2 separate regions of the Homo sapiens genome follow, and region 2 is linked to region 1. The links are contacts of gene promoters, found by promoter capture Hi-C in human tissues and cell types (Jung and others, 2019). All regions are on one chromosome and are shown on one strand. Each heading gives the region's core, a stretch centred on a gene start or on the middle of the fragment in contact. The rest is flanking DNA. Distances are from core to core; before and after follow the strand shown. Region 1 holds the start of IRAK3 (interleukin 1 receptor associated kinase 3). Region 2 overlaps HELB (DNA helicase B).

Region 1 (3,303 bases), core at 614-3,113:
AGAGATGTATAGAGGGCCGGGTGTGGTGGCTCATGCCTGTAATCCCAGAACCTTGGGAGGCCTAGGGAGGTGGATCACTTGAGCCCAGGAGTTTGAGACCAGATTGAGCAACATGGGAAAACCCCGTCTCTACAAAAACTACAAAGGTTAGCCAGGCATGGTGGCATGCACCTGTAGTCCCAGCTGTACTGGAGGCTGAGGTGGGAGGATGGCTTGAGCCCAGGGGGTGGAAGTTGCAGTGAGCCGAGATCGCACCATTGCACCCCAACCTGGGCAATCAGAGCGACTAAAAAAAACAAATAAGAAAGAAAGGAGGGAAGGAAGGAAGAAAGGAGGGAAGGAAGGAAGGAAGGAAGGAAGGTAGGTAGGTGTACAGTGTGTACAGATTGACAATAAAACCTTGAACAACGGGATATCGAAATTCTTGCCCACACAGTATGGGCTTTGCCAGTTTTCAGATACATTTTTATGAAGTATTTTCGCTGGCAAAACCATTCAGGTAGGGGCATGAAATGATAGTGTTTCATCACTCGTGATCTCTAGGGGCAGCTATTCCAAAGACTACAATCTGAGAGGTTTCAAAACACCTCTGGTGTTTTCACTTGATGGCCACTGCCCACTCTTCCAGTCACTAAGGCTGAGATTTTTCTCACCACTTTCAAAACAACTTTTTGTCACTGGTAACATGCCTCATGTGACCTAGAAGATTTTGAAACAACAATTTTACTTAAACTCCGTGAAGATTTCAAAACAACAATTTTACTTAAACTCCATGTTGAAGGCAAAAAGGAAGATTGTGTGAAGCACTTTGAGGAAGGAAAAAATGATGGAACGATATTTCATCAAGGAAGCCCATGAGGAAGAAAATTTATTAAAACCAAGTAGGTGTATGGAGGAGAGGCCGCCTCGTGAAGAAAACGAACATAATTTTACGCTGATTTGGTGTCTTTTCTGTTTTTCTCTTGTTGGTATCTACATTCATCTTTTCCAATAATAATCCCATATATGTACATTTTTATCTGTTTAAATTCAGTAAAAGTTGGGAGGAAAATGTGTCAAAACTTTTAGAGTGTGATGGGCTGAGTGGGGTTGTGAGTGATTATCTTCTTTTTTCAGTTTTTTTCTGGGTTTTCCAAGTGTTCCTCGATGAACATGGATAGTTTTTCTGACAGGATAAAAAAGAAGTAGTCCGGGACAGTGGCTAACACCCCGAATCCCAGCACTTTGGGAAGCCGGAGGTGGGAGGATCGCTTGAGGCCAGGAGTTTGAAACCAGCCTGGGCAGCATAACGACACTCCCTCTCTACGAAAAACGAAAAAAAATAATTAGCCGGACGTGGTGGCGTGCGACTGTGGTCCCAGCTACTCGGGAGGCTGAGGTGGGAGGATCGCTTGAGCCCAATAGGTGGAGGCTCCGTGAGCTGAGATAGCGCCACTGCGCTCCTGCCTGGGCGACAGAGTGAGAACCTGACTCAAAACAAAGAAAAAAGGAAGAAAAGAAAGGAAGGGAAGAAGGAAGGAAGGGAGAAGCTTTCAAAAATAAACTTTTGTAAGAAGTAATGACACCGCTAGCCGTCCACACCAGGAGACCGCCTAGCCGTGGGGCACGGTGGGCTCCTGGGAGCTCTGAGCTCTGGGCTTTCTCCAGTTCGCACTCTGCTTGTCTCGGCAGCTCCGTCCCCACCGCAGAGGTGTGAAGGGGCGCAAAGCCAGCGAAGGGAGAACCCGGGTCGGGTAACCCCCAGGCCTGGCCAGGCGGACGCAGGGGCATCTCGGGCGAGGCGCGCCTTGCGTCACGTGGGCACCGCCCCTGCAGTGACCGGAGAACGGCGTGTTCCTAGGGCTCTGCTGCCGTCGTGGAAGCAGGATTTCCGCGGTTGTGTAACGGCCTGTCGCAGGCGTGCAGGGACCTGGACTCCGCCTCGTCCCCGGGGCTCGGGCAGCCGAGCCATGGCGGGGAACTGTGGGGCCCGCGGCGCGCTGTCGGCGCACACGCTGCTGTTCGACCTGCCGCCCGCGCTGCTCGGAGAGCTCTGCGCTGTTCTGGACAGCTGCGACGGCGCGCTGGGCTGGCGCGGCCTGGGTGAGTCGGCGGGGACCGGCCGGGGGCGGCGGGGGAGCCCAGCGCGCCGCGGGGCCCGCTCGGCGTCGCCCTGCATGGCTGGGGTCCCTCGCGGGGCTGGCGCGGCCTCCGGGAAGTTCCCGCCAGGGAGCCGGCCCCCTCCTTTCCTGGGTTGGATGCAGAGACTCCCTGGGACCCAGATGCCTTCCCTCCCTTCTCTTTCAAAGAATTTTGGGTATCGCTGCAAAGTCAAGGGAGCCGAGGCCTGGGAAAGACAGATAACCAGCGTGAAAGCATCTTCTGTTCGTCCGCGATGCCACCCTCACTGGGTTCGCAATGTATGATGTCTTCTGGTCCTTGCAAAATCACCCCAGAACATCATTTTAGTATTGAGACATTTTTAGAACTTTGAGATACTTATCCTTTGGTGTTTTCAATGCATCCCTAAGCCCCTAACTTAATTACAAGTGAAATGCTAAAGTAAACTACGGTTTGCAATGAACGCGGCTCCTAATTTTCTTAATTAAATCTTATTTACCCAATTTCGTTGAATGAAGGTTTATGCTAAAGGGTGGCTTTTTATTTTAATCTAAAAAAATTGGCTTCAGAACTGTATTTTATGCAGACATTGGAAAGTTGAGCAACTGCCTGCTGGAAGTGTTGAGTGTAGCCAGAGATAATTCGGACAAAAATCTTCGTTTTGTTAAGTACAGGCATTTTTGGTTAGATTTGATATTCCACAATGTCATGTTTAATGTTTATTGAAAAGAATCATGATTATGTCAAAATAACTTAGCTTTAATGGTCTGAAATAGGATTTTTCTTACCAGGACTAGCAGAAGGCCTAAGAGGAGAGTTTTCTTTGTTACTGATGAACAGTATGGTGACAGTCTTTGAATTGTAGCAATGGGCTTCTGGTTATACAAAAAATGTTTATATATTTTAAGCTCTGTAATTTTAAGTTATGGCCCTTAAGAAAAAAAAAAAAGTCTGATTTCTAGAAAACGAGATTTCCAGTGTGCATTTGAGGGATTTTGAGGGATAAGGTCACTTCCCCATCAGATCTTTTTGAGATGGATTTTGGCGTGGACAGTATTTATACCCGTTGATTTCCTAGAGTTACTGACTTTGAGAAAGAAAAGTGTTTTTAGTCCAGTTTAATGTTGGTGAATGGGGCCAGGTGGGTGTGGTAAATTAGTGAGGCAGATTATTCTCTCTCTTTCTGTTGATAGCATTGAAATC
Region 2 (3,592 bases), core at 130-2,629, 150 kb after region 1:
ATCCTTTTGAATGTTTATAAGGGAAGCAAACTTCTGTTGAGACCTATTCTGAGTTTAGGAAATAACCCAAAGGCATTTGCTTTCTGGTTTTATGAGTTAGAGGATCCAATTTGGGTAATGGATTTTGTGTTAAAAAGAAAAAAAAAGGTGGGATTATAAGTAATTTCCAAATGTGGTTCTAATAGAAGTGTAAGAATTGCTTTAAGTGCTGGCAGCAGACTTGTTCAGTTGAGTCTTTAAGCTTCCAAGGCTGTAATAAAGGTAAGAAGGGGCCACAGGGGGAACCCAGGGGAGAAAGTGCTGGTGTAACCTGCCAGAACCAGGCTGAGTTGTAAATGGGGAATACTTATATCCTCTGTCCCCATATGGATATGGCACAGGGAAAACGTTCTCTAGGAGTCGGTCTGACACAGGGCACGGTGTGTGGAGTCCTGGCACATTAGGAGACTACAGATGTAGAACAGCATGGCTGGAGCACAGGGCACAGTGAGAGGATGGGCTGCAGACACAGGAACTGGCAGGGAGGATGGACACAGGGTCTTCTGAAGAGGTCGTAGATTCTTCTGATTGCAACTGAGAACAGTAGAAGCATTTTAAGTACTCTGTGAATTGAAATTTATGATGGTGATATTGACTGAGGTTTAGTGGATGATGATGGTTAGGGAGAGAGTAGGGAATGAGTTCTCAGCCAAAAGATTATTTCAGTAACCTGCGTAAAATGAGGAGGTTCTAACATTAGGTAGTAGCAATGGGGTTGGAGAAGAGATGCTAAGGATAGAGCTGATGGGACTTAATGATCAGTTGGATTCAGGTGGGGTTGGGCCTGAGGATAACTCCAAGACTTCTGGCTAAGGCATACAGGTGGATCCAGCACCATTAATCAGATTGGGAAAAGAGTCTGAGGGTCAGGTTTTGTGGGAAAAGTGAGTAAAATGGACATAGTTGAGGGTGGAGGGGGAAGTTTCTTCTTTTTCCCCTCTTGGACAGTAGAATCCCTGCTGATTCTAGGTTCCATTTTGTACCCCAGGTCAACTCTTTGATAGAATTTCCATCTCAGGAAAATATCTTTTTCTGAAATTAAACTTGTCATCTCTTACAGAGGTCCTGGAATAAGGCTTTTGACATGAGCAGAAAAGAGAGGCAATTCCAAAGAAAGACCCTTTTCCTAAAATTGAATTGTGCTTACTCTTTTCATTTCTTTATGGTGGTGAAACTTCATCATGACGATACTGGCCCACTTCAGAATCATTAGTAGCACAAAGAATATGACTGTGGCATTGCAATGTTTTATCTTACACATCCAGAACTGACTTCATGGGCAGGCAACATGGGCAGTCCTCCAGGACTCAGGCCCACACTTAAAAAAAAAAAAAAAAGTTCTGTAATCACCATCTTGAAATTCTTAATTTTGAACAAGGGGCCATCATTTTAATTTTGGACTGGGCTGCCAAATTATGTAGTGGGCCCTGTCTACACCTTTAGAAGTTAGACACACATACTAATTCAGTACATAGTTACTTCTAAATGCCAGACCCAGAGCTGGGTGCTAGAGATACCACAGTGAGCAAAGCAGATGTGATCCTACAAGGAGCTGATAGCCAATTGCTTTGGTTGCTGAAGCCTTTCAAGGGTTGGGGAAGGTGCATGATTTCTTTTTCTGAAGCAGAGGGAATACAAGTACGTAGGGTAGACTAACTACATTTTTACAAAATTAACTTTGTTATTTTAATTGTTCTAACAGGTGGGAGAATCTCCACAAGTGTCTTCCAGACTTCAGAATTTGAGACTGAATAATTTAATTCCCAGGCAACTTTTCAAGCCCACCGATAATCAAGAAACTTAGTTTTATTTCAAATTGTTCCGAGTAACTATGTTTTTCTATTGGAGACAAAATGAACATCGTAACGTCAAAGTACCAAGATAAAAAAAGTTTCCTATAACTGGAGTTTTAAGGTATTTGTGTTAGCAAATGTTTTAAATCCATTTCATCAAAGTATTAATGATTTCAACACGTCATCATGAGAACTGGTAGCACTGGACATAAGTGAAGAGATTAGATATTTTATATACATATATATTTTTATACAATTATGTACATTAAGCCAGGCACGGTGGCTCATGCCTGTAATCCCAGCACTTTGGGAGGCTGAGGCAGGTGGATCACCAGAGGCCAGGAGTTTGAGACCAGCCTGACCAACATGGTGAAACCCCATCTCTACTAAAAATGCAAAAATTATATGGGTGTGGTAGCACATGCCTGTAATCTCAGCTACTCAGGAGGCTGAGGCAGGAGAATCGCTTGAACCCGGGAGGCGGAGGTTGCAGTGAGCTGAGATTGCACCATTGCACTCCATCCTGGGTGGCAGAGCGAGACTCCGTCTCCAAAAAAAAAACAAACAAACAAACAAACAAAAAAAAACAAACAATTATGTACATTAAAACATTGTATTTTTAGGATAATGCCTCGTAACTTTGATGATCGTTGTGTGTTACCTTTGCCAATGGGTTGAAGCAGTGGCAAAGAAAAGGTGTAATTACATCTGTTGATGTTATTGACATGCCTCCTAGGATGTTGAAATGTGGTCATTTTACAAGACTGCTGCTCACTTCATCACTGCTGCCTGGGGCCCAGCCTACCTGGGACTTTTCCTTGGAAGTGCTTTCTGAGTTGGGAGCACATTGTTTTGAATATGTTCCACTTAGGAAGGTTTTTTCTCTCTCAGAATGATTTGATTTTTAAATTTTTATTTATGTTAAATGGTAAAAGAAAAAGTCAAGATGAAAAATATATCTGTTAACCCATTTATGCCTAGTGGTCCATTATTGGGACACTAAACATGTGAGAGTTATTTATATCCCACTGCTCAAAGTCCTCACCAACGTCTGATTGCAAAAATTCAGAAAGTTGCAACCTCAGGCATAAATGGTTAATAGCTTTATTGAGATATAATTCACATACATTTCACCCATTTTAAGTATATAATTCAGTGGCTTTTAGTATATTCATCAAATTGGACAACTACCATTATTATCAATTTTAGAACTTTTTTTTTTTTTTAATGATAGAGACAAGGTCTCACTATGTTTCCCAGGTTGGTCTCGAACTCCTGAGCTCAAGTGATCCTCCCACCTTGGCCTCCCAAAGTGTTAGGATTACAAGTGTGAGCCAGTGTGCCCAACCTGGAACATTTTCATACCCTACAAAGAAACCTCACACTCTGGCCGGGCGTGGTGGCTCATGCCTGTAATCCCAGCACTTTGGGAGGCTGAGGTGAGCAGATCACCTGAGGTCGGGAGTTCGAGACCAGCCTGACCAACATGGAGAAACCCCGTCTCTACTAAAAATACAAAATTAGCTGGGAATGGTGGCGCATGCCTGTAATCCCAGCTACTTGGGAGGCTGAGGCATGAGAATCGCTTGAACCCAGGAGGTGGAGGTTGCGGTGAGCTGAGTCACGCCATTGCACTCCAGCCCGGACAATAAGAGCAAAACTCCGTCTCAAAAAAAAGAGAAACCTCACACTCCTTAGCAGTAATCCCCTGACTTCCCCCATCCCTAGGTAACCTGATTTACCTAGTCCCAATAGACTTG

The links. Contacts are between HindIII fragments. The study calls those that stand out against the background at their distance.
Region 2: a fragment that was not itself captured here is called in contact with the fragment with the promoter of IRAK3 in region 1 in 1 of the 25 tissues and cell types used here (stomach).

What each region holds. Positions count from the first base shown.
Region 1 is chr12:66,187,351-66,190,653 of GRCh38, forward strand. IRAK3 (interleukin 1 receptor associated kinase 3) reads left to right here and starts at 1,864. Exons shown (of 12, transcript NM_007199.3): 1 at 1,864-2,082. The coding sequence starts at 1,950. RefSeq lists silencers at 1,969-2,018, 2,039-2,198. The HindIII fragment of the contact is 8,386 bases long and covers 1-3,303 here.
Region 2 is chr12:66,336,260-66,339,851 of GRCh38, forward strand. HELB (DNA helicase B) reads left to right here. Exons shown (of 13, transcript NM_001370285.1): 13 at 1,742-1,940. The coding sequence ends at 1,843. Among named protein-coding and RNA genes, the nearest start is that of HELB, 36 kb to the left of the region's middle. The HindIII fragment of the contact is 6,484 bases long and covers 1-3,592 here.